Regions from separate parts of the Homo sapiens genome. Here regions 2 and 3 are each linked to region 1. Evidence: promoter capture Hi-C in human tissues and cell types (Jung and others, 2019). All regions are on one chromosome and are shown on one strand. Each heading gives the region's core, a stretch centred on a gene start or on the middle of the fragment in contact. The rest is flanking DNA. Distances are from core to core; before and after follow the strand shown. Region 1 holds the start of CMTM8 (CKLF like MARVEL transmembrane domain containing 8). Region 2 overlaps OSBPL10 (oxysterol binding protein like 10). Region 3 has its middle 19 kb from the start of DYNC1LI1.

What was found. The method cuts DNA at HindIII sites, captures the fragments that hold promoters and counts their contacts. A contact is called where the count stands out against the background at its distance.
Region 2: a contact is called between a fragment that was not itself captured here and the fragment with the promoter of CMTM8 in region 1, in 1 of the 25 tissues and cell types used here (mesenchymal stem cells).
Region 3: a fragment that was not itself captured here is called in contact with the fragment with the promoter of CMTM8 in region 1 in 1 of the 25 tissues and cell types used here (liver).

Annotation. Positions count from the first base shown.
Region 1 is chr3:32,236,936-32,241,110 of GRCh38, reverse strand. CMTM8 (CKLF like MARVEL transmembrane domain containing 8) reads right to left here and starts at 2,431. Exons shown (of 4, transcript NM_178868.5): 1 at 1,992-2,431. The coding sequence starts at 2,138. RefSeq lists a silencer at 2,418-2,627. The HindIII fragment of the contact is 9,285 bases long and covers 1-4,175 here.
Region 2 is chr3:31,763,042-31,767,216 of GRCh38, reverse strand. All of the region lies in intron 4 of OSBPL10 (oxysterol binding protein like 10), which reads left to right. Among named protein-coding and RNA genes, the nearest start is that of OSBPL10-AS1, 61 kb to the right of the region's middle. The HindIII fragment of the contact is 3,568 bases long and covers 290-3,857 here.
Region 3 is chr3:32,588,195-32,592,369 of GRCh38, reverse strand. No RefSeq gene overlaps it. Among named protein-coding and RNA genes, the nearest start is that of DYNC1LI1, 19 kb to the right of the region's middle. The HindIII fragment of the contact is 6,364 bases long and covers 1-4,175 here.

The DNA.
Region 1 (4,175 bases), core at 1,182-3,681:
GAATCTTTAAAATATGTGCATAAGGTGGGGCACAGTGGTTCATGCCTACAATCCCAGCACCTTAGGAGGCCAAGGCAGGAGGATTGCTTGAGCCTAGGAGTTTCAGAGCAGCCTGGGCAACACAGAGAGACCCCGTCCCTAGAAAAAAATTAAAAATTATCCAAGTGTGTTGGTGCATGCCTGTGGTCTCAGCTACTTGGGAGGCTGAGATGGGAAGATCGCTTGAGCCCAAGAGGTCAAGGCGGCAGTGAACCATGATGGTGCCACCGCACCTCAGCCTGGGAGACAGAGCAAAACCCTGTCTCAAAACAAAACAAAACAAACAAAAAAGGTGCATAATTAGCTCTGTCAAAAATAAAAACTATAGTAGTAATAAGGGTGATTTTGCTTACATGTTTTCCCATCTTTTTCAAAACGCTTAATGAAATCTAAAAGGATACATGCTAACATGTCAACAGTGATTATTTCTAGTAATGGGATTGTGGGCCACTTACATTTCTTTCACTTTTGTATTTCCTGAAAAAGCGCAGTACACAGAGCATATCGATAATAAATCAGAAAAAAACCCAAAGGCGTTATACTTCATGCCTGGCCCAAATCCACCCCAAGGTAGAAGGCCCATCTCTGTCATTTTAGCTTTTGTTTGCGCTGCTGAAGCAGAGGAGCCTGCCAACTCCTTCATTTGCACAGCAAATATTTGTTGAACTCCTAAAAGCTAGGCCCTGCAAGGCGATTCCAATACCTTCAGCTTTTGAGTCTCCTGAAGTCCTCAATACTCGCTGAGGGAACCAGCTGGGAGAGGAGCTAAGCCAACACTTCTCATACCTTATGTGCATTATGACCACCAGGGGCTTCATAGAGCAGGTCCGGGTGGTATCTGAGACTGGGGGAGCAAGCAAGCTACTTGAGGTACACAAGATTTACTTCAGGTTTCTCAAAGGAACCGCCCAGGTCTTCAGTCACTTCTGCACCATGATGGTGTGCCCATTCTCTAACTCCCACATAGGCTCATTTTCAATTCCCAAATATTTAACAAAAGTCTGTGAGAGATGACAGAGGGGCACTGCTGGGGCAGCTGGAAGCTGTCTCAACTGCTTGCAGTTATGAGCACGGCCCTGCAGAAAGGCAGGCCTGGGTTTGAATCCATGCTTCACCATCCACCGGTGTGATTTACGTCCCCTCTCTAGGCCTTCACAGGGGAGGGTGGTCGTTGGATTACACGAGGGTATGAGGACATCTAAAGGGCTTGACAAGATCCTGGTACACGAAGAAGACTCAAACAGTGACCACCTCTAACTGCTGACAGGACTCCAGTCCTTTCTCAGCTATGAAGGACTGGCTGGGACTTCTGGGAAGATCACGTGAGTTTTCAGCCTCTATGCCCTCCAATGAAGAGAAGAACGCCCATGCCCTGCCTCCTTCCCAGGAATGTTCTGAGCCTAAACCAGGATGTGCACAGCACCATGCAAAAGACCTCTTTGGTCCTAAAATAGGTTATGGCACTCAGATTTTATTCAGTAAAATTTTCCTGACTCACCTCAATGTTACTACCAGGGAGATAATTAGGAAAAGAAAGAAGCCCTTTCCTCTTCCCCTGATCTTAGGAAGCTTTATTTTCAGGGAGGAGGCCATCCACGTGGAGATCAGGTGAGAAAGGCACCAGGTGTCTCTGACACTCAACACAAACTCAATAGCCACTAAGCCAAGCTTCCTGCTCCCAGGATCTGCCGCCGCCACCGAGAGGACCCAACAAGCTGAATTTCTCCCACAGCAAGACATCCTGAGGATCACAACCCTTTCTTCCCAGGACAGCCCGAGTTTCCTGGACCTTGTTTAGAGTCTTTCACTTTGGGAAGAAGGCGAGGCTGAGCAAAAACGGTTCCCTAAAGCCCGCGGGAAGATCTGAGCAGGCTCCATCCCGAGAAGCACGGCGGAAGCACGCGCCGGGGTCCAGCTGAGCCCCCCGCCACCCCCGGCCCGTCGGCACTCACGATCTCGGCCACGATGAGGAAGCCGGGCAGGGTGCGGAGGAACTCCCGGTCGTAGGCGAAGCTGCTGCTGCTGGTGGAGAAGTTCTCTGCGAAGGAGCTGGCGGTGGTGGTGACTGTGTGCGAGCGGGCGCGCTGCGGCTCCTCCATCGTCGAGCCACTGCCGGGCTGGCGCGTCCCCAGGGACCCCGGCGGGTCTGGGGCTGGACGCGCGGCCCTGCGCCCTGGGGACACAGGCGCGGGGGAGGGGAGCGCGGCCCGCGCGGGGCAGGAGGTGCGAGGGGGGCGCCCGCCGGGGGCTGTCCAGGCGCGGCGGGTGTCCCTCTAGTGCGCGGTGCCCCTAGCGCCTCGGTGCGCGGGCTCCCGAGCTGCGCTGGGGCCCTAGAGGAAGAGGAGAGCGAGCGAGGGGAGGCTGCCGGGCAGCCGGGGAAGGCGGTGGAGGCCCGGAGGAGGGGAGGGGGCGGGGAGAGGGGCGGGCGGGAGGCGGGCAGGAGAGGGACCGCCCCGCGGAGGCGCCGCGGACGCCCGCCCTCTTCACCTGTTGCCCGACTCCCAGCGGCGGAGAAGGCGCCGCGTCGCACCCAGGGTGGCTGGGTTGGCAGCCTGGCGGGCGGCGCGGAGGAGAGGGCGCAGGGGTCCTTCTGGCCGTCTTCCGCTCCCCCTCCCGGCCTTTACTTCTGTCAGGCCCCGCCTGGCCCAGGCCCGCAGCCTGTTTCCTTCCACCTGGGCGGGTCGGGGGCTGCGGGCATTGGGGCCCCTTAAGGAAACCCAGGCCTCCAGGGACTCCGCCGCTCCAGGACTCGGCGCGGAGGGAATGACTGAGCGACGACCGAGGCAGGGGGTGATGTGGTACCTCGAATGCTGTGGAAATGGCAGGAATGATGACCCGGCCGGACCTTAGACCCGAGATCGATGAGAGGCCGCCAGCACTGCCCGGGAGACGGCCCGCTCTTCTCCCCCTCCTGCTGCGGCCGCCGCCAGAGCCCGGTGTTATTTCCTGCCCCTCCTGTCGGGAACAATTTGAGGAACCAACTTAATCGCTTGGCTTTGAGGGCGCGACGCTTCCAGGCGCTCTCCGCGGCTCTGTCCCGCGGACCGGTGGAGCCTGGGTGACGGCGCCTGGGCCGGAGGAGGGGAGATGTTTGGGGTCCCTGGCCAGGATGAATCAGCGTAACCGTCCCGTCACCCTCGGGGAAAAAAAATGTTTCAAGAAGGCTTGAAGGGTGTGATTTGTGTAATGTTAACTTTAGGACAAATGAGCTGTGCTTTCCTGGCATGGGAAGGGGATGGGGGTCCTCATTTAGTGAGGCAGTTTGTAACAGGGTCAGGGAAGAACTGAGCTCGGCTGCGTGCGTTTATCGGCTGTATGACCCAGAGCGAGTGGCTCTAGTTTTTGGACCTCAGTAATGCCATCTCTAAAATGCAGGCTTTGACAGATGGACCTCTGAACAAAAAGATTATCTTCCGCTTGGTCCCTCCTTCTATTTTGTGAAAGGGTAGCAAGAAACATTTTATCTGGAAGCCACCAAAAGAAAAGGAAATAATCTTTGGCTATAAATCGAGGGTATCTTTGATTCACAGTGAAGGCATTTCTGCTGATCTGTTCCAAGACAGGTTAAAAACGAGATCAGAAGGGACATTTTCTTCACAGTGTCTTATCAAGTGTGCTGAGAAGAAAGCAAAAACGACAATCTAATAAAATAAAACAAGGAATTAGTGTCTTTTAAGTCTAGGGCCTAGCCAGGAAGACCTCCAGGAGTAAAAGTTAAGGCTTCAAAAGCATGGCAAAGATGTAGATTTGGAGAGATTCCATCCATGTGCATTTGGTAAGCACCTTGGGCTGGTGGGTAAATTCTTAAAATTTAAAATATAGCACTTCTCCCTGGAGCAGTAGTTCTCAAAGTGGTCCTTGGACCAACAGCAGGTAAGTTCCCTGGGAACTTATCAAAAATGCAAGGTCTCAAGCCCCACCCCCAGACCCTCTGAATCAGAAACTCTGAGGGTGGAGCCAGGAAGCTGTGTTTGAACAAGCCCTCCAAAAGACACTGATGCATGCTGAAGTTAGCTGCTGCTTTAGAGAAACTGTTAATGAGTTTGGGGAAATAAGAGATACATACATGAAATGGCTGGAGGAGACTCAAGCATTATGCATGACATTTAGTGAACGTAAAAGACGGAGTCTAGACA
Region 2 (4,175 bases), core at 824-3,323, 470 kb after region 1:
AAAACACAAGAGGGCTCTTGAAAGAGAGAATTGGCTAATATTGTAGCAAAATCCAGAGCTCCTCAGTGGTAATTTTAATTTCCACAAAGTTAATGAAAGTATAGCCCTCCAGACCTGATATGAAAAAGTAGTATAACGTAGCTAATTGGGTTGTTTTCTAGACTTAGGAATCACCAGGGAAAGGCTAAGCTTAGAGAGGACTGTGGATTGAGCCCTCATCTCTTTTTAATCTCCTCTATAACCTGGCAGATTCTATTGGCTTTTCATTATGAGATTGTACTGCAAATGAAAGAAAGAGGAGGTGGGGTGTTCTGGGCTTGGTTACAGCTGGGTGTTTATCACAGGCATTTATAAGAAGTTAGTACACTTTCAGGCCCTCTGACAGGAAGCTTTGTAACCTGGCATTCATGTCATGCCAGCATTAAGTTTAGAGAAATGCTCCATTATTTGATTAATTGTCTTGGATAAAAGCCTTAACTGATGTTCCAGTTGACCTACAAATCTTGTGAAGTGAGTTTTAAAAGTATTTGTAAATAGTATGTATCCTTATAGCTCATGAATGTCAGAATTCTACACTGGGGCCAGCACAGTGGCTCATACCTGTAATCCCAGCAATTTGAGGGGCTGAGGAGGAAGATTGCTTGAGGCTAGGAGTTCAAGACCAGCCTGGGCAACATAATGAGACCCCATCTCTACCAAAATAAAAATTATCTGGGTGTCATGGTGTGAGCCTATACTCCCAGCTACTTGGGAAGCTGAGCTCAGAGGATCATCTGAGTCCTGGAGGTTGAGTCTGCAATGAGCAATGATTGTGCCACTGCACTCTAGCTTGGGTGGTGATGAAGTGAGACCGTGTCTCAAAAAAAAAACAAAAAAAAACAAAAAAACAAAAAAACTACATTGGGCCAAACATCACAGAGCAGTGGGCAGAGGGAAGACCCTATGTTGAAGTGGGGGATCTGTGTCCACATGGTGTGTCACATGGCCACTGTTTTCCACATCTCCAGTGTCAGCTGAGTGGGCTCAGGCAGGCATGTGACCCAGAGCCAATAACGTAAACTCACTTTCTCTCATCTGAATTAGGAGAAGAAACTAGAGGATTGGGTAGATTTGGCTCCAGCGGCTCTGCTGGGCTTTGTTGCAAGTGGAGGAAGTTGAGTTGAGCAAGAAGAGGAGAGAAAGGTGTGAAAACCAGCGACCATAGAGACCAGGGGATAGAGAGAAATAAGAGACGGCCATATCTCTGAAGGAAAGAAAGAGTAGCTCTTTCAAGTAGTTTCTGGGCACTCTTTCCTGTATCCATGCAACAAATCCCCTTCTCCTTGCATGAGTGTGGGTGGTTTCACTTCTTTGTTACTAAACTTTCTCTGTGACCATGATCAACTAAACCCTGGGAGGTATACAAGGAAAATATGAAACCTTGTCCCCTGACTACTGAACTTCTCAGTCTTGATAGAGCAAGAAAAAAAACCCAAACCTGGTCCTACTTATCCCCAGAAATGGTATTGTACCTCCTTTTTCACTTGCTAATTTTAAAGTCCCACTGGCTGTCACTTAGATTGGGTGTATACATTGTTTTTGTTCAAATGGATCCATCTCATAGTGGCATTGAGACCAATCTTCTTACCTGTCCGAAGGGAGGAGAACAGCCCCTTCCCAGCTCTCAAAGAGATGCCTGGGTGCTCTCCTTTGTATATTCATTCATTCATTCATTCATTCACTCACTCACTCATGCTTTCAGCTGATATTTTTTTGCCCACAGTTTGCCACATCTTGTCCTAGGTTTGGGGAAACAACAGTGAACAGAAGAGACAAAGTGGCACCGAGAGCCTGGTAAGGGCAAGAGAAATTAACAAATTAGTAACATAACACATCAGTAGAGGCTGGGCACAGTGACTCATGGCTGTAATCCTAGCACTTTGGGAGGCTGAGGTGGGCAGATCACTTGCTCAGGGGTTCTAGACCAGCCTGGATAACGTGGTGAAATCATGTCTCTACAAAAAAAAAACAAAAACAAAACAAAACACAAAAATTAGTTGGGCATGGTGGCACATGCCTGTAATCCCAGCTACTTGGTAGACTGAGGTGGGAGGACTATCTGAGGCCAGGAGGCAGAGGTTGCAGTGAGCCATGATCTCGCCGCTGCACTCCAGCCTGGGTGACAGAGCAAGACCCTGTCTCCAGAAAAAAAAAGAAAAAAAGTAGTTAGTTAATTACAACCATGATGTGTTTTATGGATGATGGGGATCATGGCCTTTTGGGAGGATGATGGAAGGCTATCTGGTGAAAACAACCTGTAAGCCGGGGTCGAAGAAGGAATAAAAATTGACTAGGAGAAAAACATGTCATGGACTTCACTGGAAGTTGAGCCTGGAACTCATTCAGATAATGCCTTCTTTATCCCACGATCATATAGATTAAGTTAGAGGCTCTAAGAAATTTGGGATTGTGTGTCCAGAGATATATAATGTGCAGTTAAAATGCTCCACCCTTGCTGGGAGATTGGTACTGGAGAGAAATGATGGTTAAGCCTGAAGCTTCAAGGTCCCAGGCTAAAAAGAGACAAGATCTTTTATTCCTTGAGTGAAAGTAGTAACAACAAACTAGGGGCAATGAAAAGGAGTTCTCAAATTTGCTAGAGAACCGTGCTGGCATCTTAAAACTTCTAGAAGCTTTGGAACTCGATCCTTCTTCCTTCGTTCCTCTTTCTTTATTCTTCCCTTCTCTTCTTCCCCTGTTTTGCCTCCCTTTAATCGCCCTTCCTTTCACTTGCCCTGTCTTCCCATTTCTTCTCTCCCGTCCCCTCTCCTCCATTTATCCACCCAACAAACATACATCAGGCATCTCCTTTGAATAAGACATTATGGGCCCTGCCCAGAAAGAGTTTGGCAGTGAATTAATTGACTGATTCCACCAGCAGGCTGGGCCGTGGAGAGAGATATATGTGGAACTATATTCGTTATAGTGAGTTCATTCTGTGTGTTTATATGAACAGTGATCATGGACTATATACTCTTACATGTACTCTTTTTAAAAGTGCATGCTCAGAGCAGTGAGGAAGTGTGGAGAAGGAGTAGAAAGCAGTTCTAAATGCAGGTGTCTGCAAAGGGCGGTTAGCTCTTTTGCAAAGCACTGTGTATTATATATCATTATTCTGTGTCATATTTGTGTGCCTTGAGGATTACATTGTAAGCAGTTCGTGTGCAGGAATTGTGTTCTCTCTTCTGTAAAATGGTGACTGCAGTGTCATTTACCCAGTGGGGATACAATAAACGTTAATTAATGGTGGCTTATTCCTTAACATAATTTTCCCTTTCAGATTAATGAAGCAGATTCCTGATAAATGCACTTGTCTCTCCAGAGTTTCATTTGCTAAAGCTCAAATGATGTAAAGGATTTGCCTGGAGGTGTGAAATTTTTGCCCAGTTTTTTTTCTTTTTTCAAGTGCCATTTGGAGATGCATTTCTTTCCTGAAAATAATTGGCACTAGTGAAATTAATTCTAGGTGGAAAAGAGAAGTATGTAGTCATGTTCTTGCCTGCTACTTTGGGTGGCTATTTGATCTAAAAACAGCAATTAAGTTTTAAAAGGGAATGGCAGGTGTTTACTGGGTAGAGCTAAGGCCCAGTTTGTATATGCTATCAAGCTCAAGTTAGAATATTAGAATATTCTTCAGGAATTCTTAGAGACATCCTATTCTCCTTGCAAAATAAAAGAATTTCCATAAAATCCAGATTAAATATCTGGACACTTAGAGGTTCTTTGAGATATGTGTGTGGAGTATGAGTGAACAAAGGTGAAGCAGTCTGAAGAAAATGGTTTAATTTCATGCTTGTTGACCCTTAGTTTGTAAGGTTACGTTCTGCCAGAGAAAAAAACTGATCTACTATCCAGTATTTGCTGAGAAATGACAGTAGATTAATCAGAAGACTTCTGAAGTGAGTCAGTAAAGCAGCATTTTAGGTTTTGTTTCTTTTTGTTTTATATGATGTGTGTTAAATGATTTCTGATTAGAGAACTGACAGAAATGTAAACACTTGAATGAAACTTTCAAACCATTTGCAGAACAATTCCTTACCCTTTCTTATTACGTCTTTGCTTATAAATTGTGTTTTCTTTTCTGTGAATTTTACCCTAGAGGAGTTTGCTGTGTGTGTTCTCATTCCGTTCCGGAT
Region 3 (4,175 bases), core at 1,225-3,724, 350 kb before region 1:
AAAGAAAAAAGAAAATCTGGAAGGAACTAGGGCTTTGTGGGGCCCTAAGAATAGGGCCTCCAGGATTGTCCCAGTTTATGCCTGTCATCCTGGTGTAGCTATTAATAACCTCCTCTTTCACTCTCAAAAGTGCCTTGGTTTGGAATAAATTATGTGGTCACTCAACCAGTTTAAGGAGGCAATTGACTTGCTTAGCACCGTCTTTATGTCTCCCTATGGGGTAGCTTTAACTGTCCATTGTTTGCCCAACTCTGAGCACATCCATCTATCACTCAACCTTCTATTCCTGGTGTCTTGCAAATGATGGGTATATAAATGTTTTGGTTGAAGGAATGAAAGAATGGGAAGAGGCATTACTTGTTGATGGTAACAGGGACCTGGAATCATAGAGTTAATTTGGGAAGAGATCTTCAAACTCATCTGTTTGTAGGTGTGGAAACTCAGTCTCAGAAATGTGAAGTAGCTTGCTCAAGGCCATATCGTTAGTGGCAAATCCAGGGCTTAATGTTTCAAAACTATTACTACTCAAAAAGTGGTCCCTGGATGAGCAGTACCAGAAGTACCTGGTGGTTTGTTAGAAAGGTGGAATCTCAGGTCCCACCCCAAGAACTATGTCAGTGTCTATGAAGGATCCGATATTTTATCTTAATTCCAGGTTAATAAGTTAGCCTGTTACTATTTCATGGATGCTGACAGAGCACACGAGCCCTGGGTCAGAGATAAAGGATTTTGTTACTCACATCACAACTGGCATCATGAGCATAACATTGTTTTTCATCAGTTCCCCATGTCTCCCAGGTCTCATAGGGGAGATGTGGAGAGGCCCAGATGATGCTGGGTTTGTGTCACAGCTGAGAAACACTGAGATTAGGGAATTCACTGTTTTTATATTGAGCAGTAAGCAAGCCTGCTCTTTGTTTTTTGTTTAGGGTAGGGGGAGCTGCTGAGGGAAATTAATTCATTCCATGAAATTACTCTCTGCAAGAACAACCCTGAGAATTGGTCCTGGTAATAAGCAGCCAGAGTCTTGCATTCTTGTCATACAGAGCAAGAACATATAGGGGCATTCAGGGTCCATGGTGCACTGCCTCTCCCAAGAACCTACGGACTCAAAATCTGCATTTTTTTTTTTTTGAGACAGAGTTTCGTTCTTGTTGCCCAGGCTGCAGTGCCATGGCGCGATCTCAGCTCACTGAAACCTCTGCCTCCCAGGTTCAAGCAATTCTCCTGCCTCAGCCTCACAAGTAGCTGGGATTACAGGCGCCTGCCACCACACCCGGCTAATTTTTGTATTTTTAGTAGAGATGGGGTTTCACCATGTTGGCCAGGCTGGTCTTGAACTCCTGACCTCAGGTGATCCACCCGCCTCAGCCTCCCAAAGTGCTGGGATTACAGGTGTCATCTCGGCTCACTACAACCTCTGCCTCCTGCGTTCAAGCAATTGTCCTCCAGAGTAGCTGAGACTATAGGCATGCACCACCACACCCAACTAAGTTTTGTATTTTTAGTAGAGATGGAGTTTCGCCATTTTGGCCAGGCTGGTCTCAAACTCCTGAGCTCATATTGATCTGCCCACCTTGGCCTCTCAAAGTGCTGGGATTACAGGTGTGAGACACTGTGCCCAGCTTCTTTGGCTTTTCTTTACAAAACAAACAAACAAACAAAAAAAAACAAAAACCTTCCAGGAGTTTACAATATAGTAGTAACCTATGTCTCTCTTATGTGGCCCTTTTGCAATGGCATAACTAGTAAGAATGGGCAGTTGATGGAGTCCCACATATAATCAAAAAGAATTATCCTCTGTGATCTGGAGAAGTCTATTGGGCTAAGTAGGAGCAAAGCAAAGCAAGAGACATTTGGTGTTGTAGTTTTGGCTTTTTCCATGGGTGGTAGAAGGTGGATATCTTGGGTCTGGGAGCCATCTCGATGGCCTTACATCCTACCCAAGGCACTTCTCAAGGCAGGGCAAAAGTAAAATTCCTGCCTCAGTGTAACCAAAGTCTGTTCTCTTAAACAGTAGACTGAATTCTGAGTAAAGATCATGATGCCCAGAGTGGCTACCTTCCCCTGTTTCTCATTCCTCCCTCTTTCTTAACTCACTCCTTGAAGGAATTTCAGTCAGTATGCATGTAGGGCAGATGCTGTGAAAGGGAAAGGTGCTATAGTAGGTTCAGTTAGAGCAAGTTGTAGCATTGAACTTTAGCTAGTGTCCACTTACCCCAATTCCAGGCACCCAAAGCACCCCGAGCCCATGGTTCCCCATGCAGTACTCCGGCTGCATTCCCTGCTTCCCTCTGACTGTTGGAGAAAATACCAATAATGTTGGGAATGATGCCTTAGGTCCTTCTACTCCAAATGTGATCCACAGACCAGCATTATCTGGGAGCTTGTTAGAAATGCAGAATCTCAGTCCCAACCTCTGATATTCTGAACCAGTATCTGCATTTTAGCAAGATCCCTGGTGATTCGTGTGCACACTGAAGTTTGAGAAGTTCAGCCTTAGCTGTGTTTGAGCCAAACTGTGTTTGAAGTTTGAGAAGCTCAGCCTAACAATGTGGTCTTTAAATCACATATCTAACTCTTTGCTCATTCAGCCACCTTATGATTGTAATTTGGTAGCTGCAGCAGAAATGCCTACCTCAACATCCTTTTCATTCCCTTCTTAATAATAGAACCTCCACTTTATTTGGGGTAACAATGTGCCTGGCTAAAAGACTACACTTCCCAACTGCCCTTGTAGCTAGATGGGGCTATGAGACTAGCTCTTCATCAATGAAGTGTAAGTGGAAATATTTATGGGACTAATGGAAAGTCTCTTGAAACTCAGGGGATATATCCTTCTTTCTTCTTTACTCCTTATTGCTGCCTGGGACATGGACATCATGAGTGGCTTCTAGCAGTCATCTTGGACCATGGAGTGACCTTGAGAAAGGAAGTTACAGATTGAAGATGACAGAGCAGAAGAATAAAAGCTTATATTTCAATGACACATTGAAATTACTATATCGGTTTGGACTTGCATATGCCCAGACTTCCTTTATGGGAAAGAGAATTGTCTGTCTTGTTTAAACCACCATAATTTGGCTTTTCTGTTTCTATAACTGTTATTTGTGTGTCTACAACTTACTGGCAAAAATAATGCAGATGTTCAGCTCCTCAGCAAGGTGTCTCCTCGTAAATCAATAAAATAGAATTCTAGTTTACACATCTGAACTCCACTAATGTGAATCTGTCCCTGAGAGATGACCTGGTGACTAAGTGCTGGGGGGAAGGCAATAAGGGTGCCACTTGGGGAAGAACACTTGGTGGCCAACTGGTTTCCCTCTCAGGCAGCACACCTTCTTGGTTTTCATTTTCTTCTAACCTTAATATGTACAATTAGCAAGAGATAGAGGGAGAACAAAAGGCCTACCTAATTTAAGACTGAATAATCCAAATAATCCATTGTTCAATCTCTAAAAATCAAGTTATTTATAAACTATTTCCTGAGTTAGGAAGTTAAGTGGTCTCTGTTGACGTTATGTCTTTGAATGTTCTAAGTAGAATATTCATCTCTTTTGAAGGCTATTGTTCTATTCTTATTAAGCATGCAGAATTTCACTGTAATTCTGACATCTTAAATCACTTCCCACACTACAGGGATGAGTGTTAATAATTAATATTTGTATTATGTTATCTTATGAAGCCCTTTCAAATACTCAGTTTACTTAATCCTCAACAGCCCCGTGAGTAGCTATTCAACTCATTCATCTATAGATGAGGAAACTAAGAGCCAGAGAGATTAAGTAATGTACCCAAAGATACACAGCTCAGAAGTAGCATTCTTTCAGTCTCCTTGCTACCATGCTACTCTGCTCTACTTCTGTGCAGAGACTCACATTATGAGGCCAGAGTTTATGTGGACAGGACATATTGGGGACATGGCACATAGAAACTTTTTCAATCACACCATGTAGACATTGCATATTTATACATGCAACTGTCTATTTATGGTTGCAGGTTACACACTGGCTGCAAGCTGGTTTACTTTTTCTTTTCTGAAGAGCTAGAAGGCACAAGAGATTATCCACATTATCCCCTCATCCTTCAGACTCCAAAGCCTAGAGAAGTGAAATGATTTATCCAAGATCTTAATTAGGTACAAGTCCTAGACTATACACCCCAAGTCCCTTAAC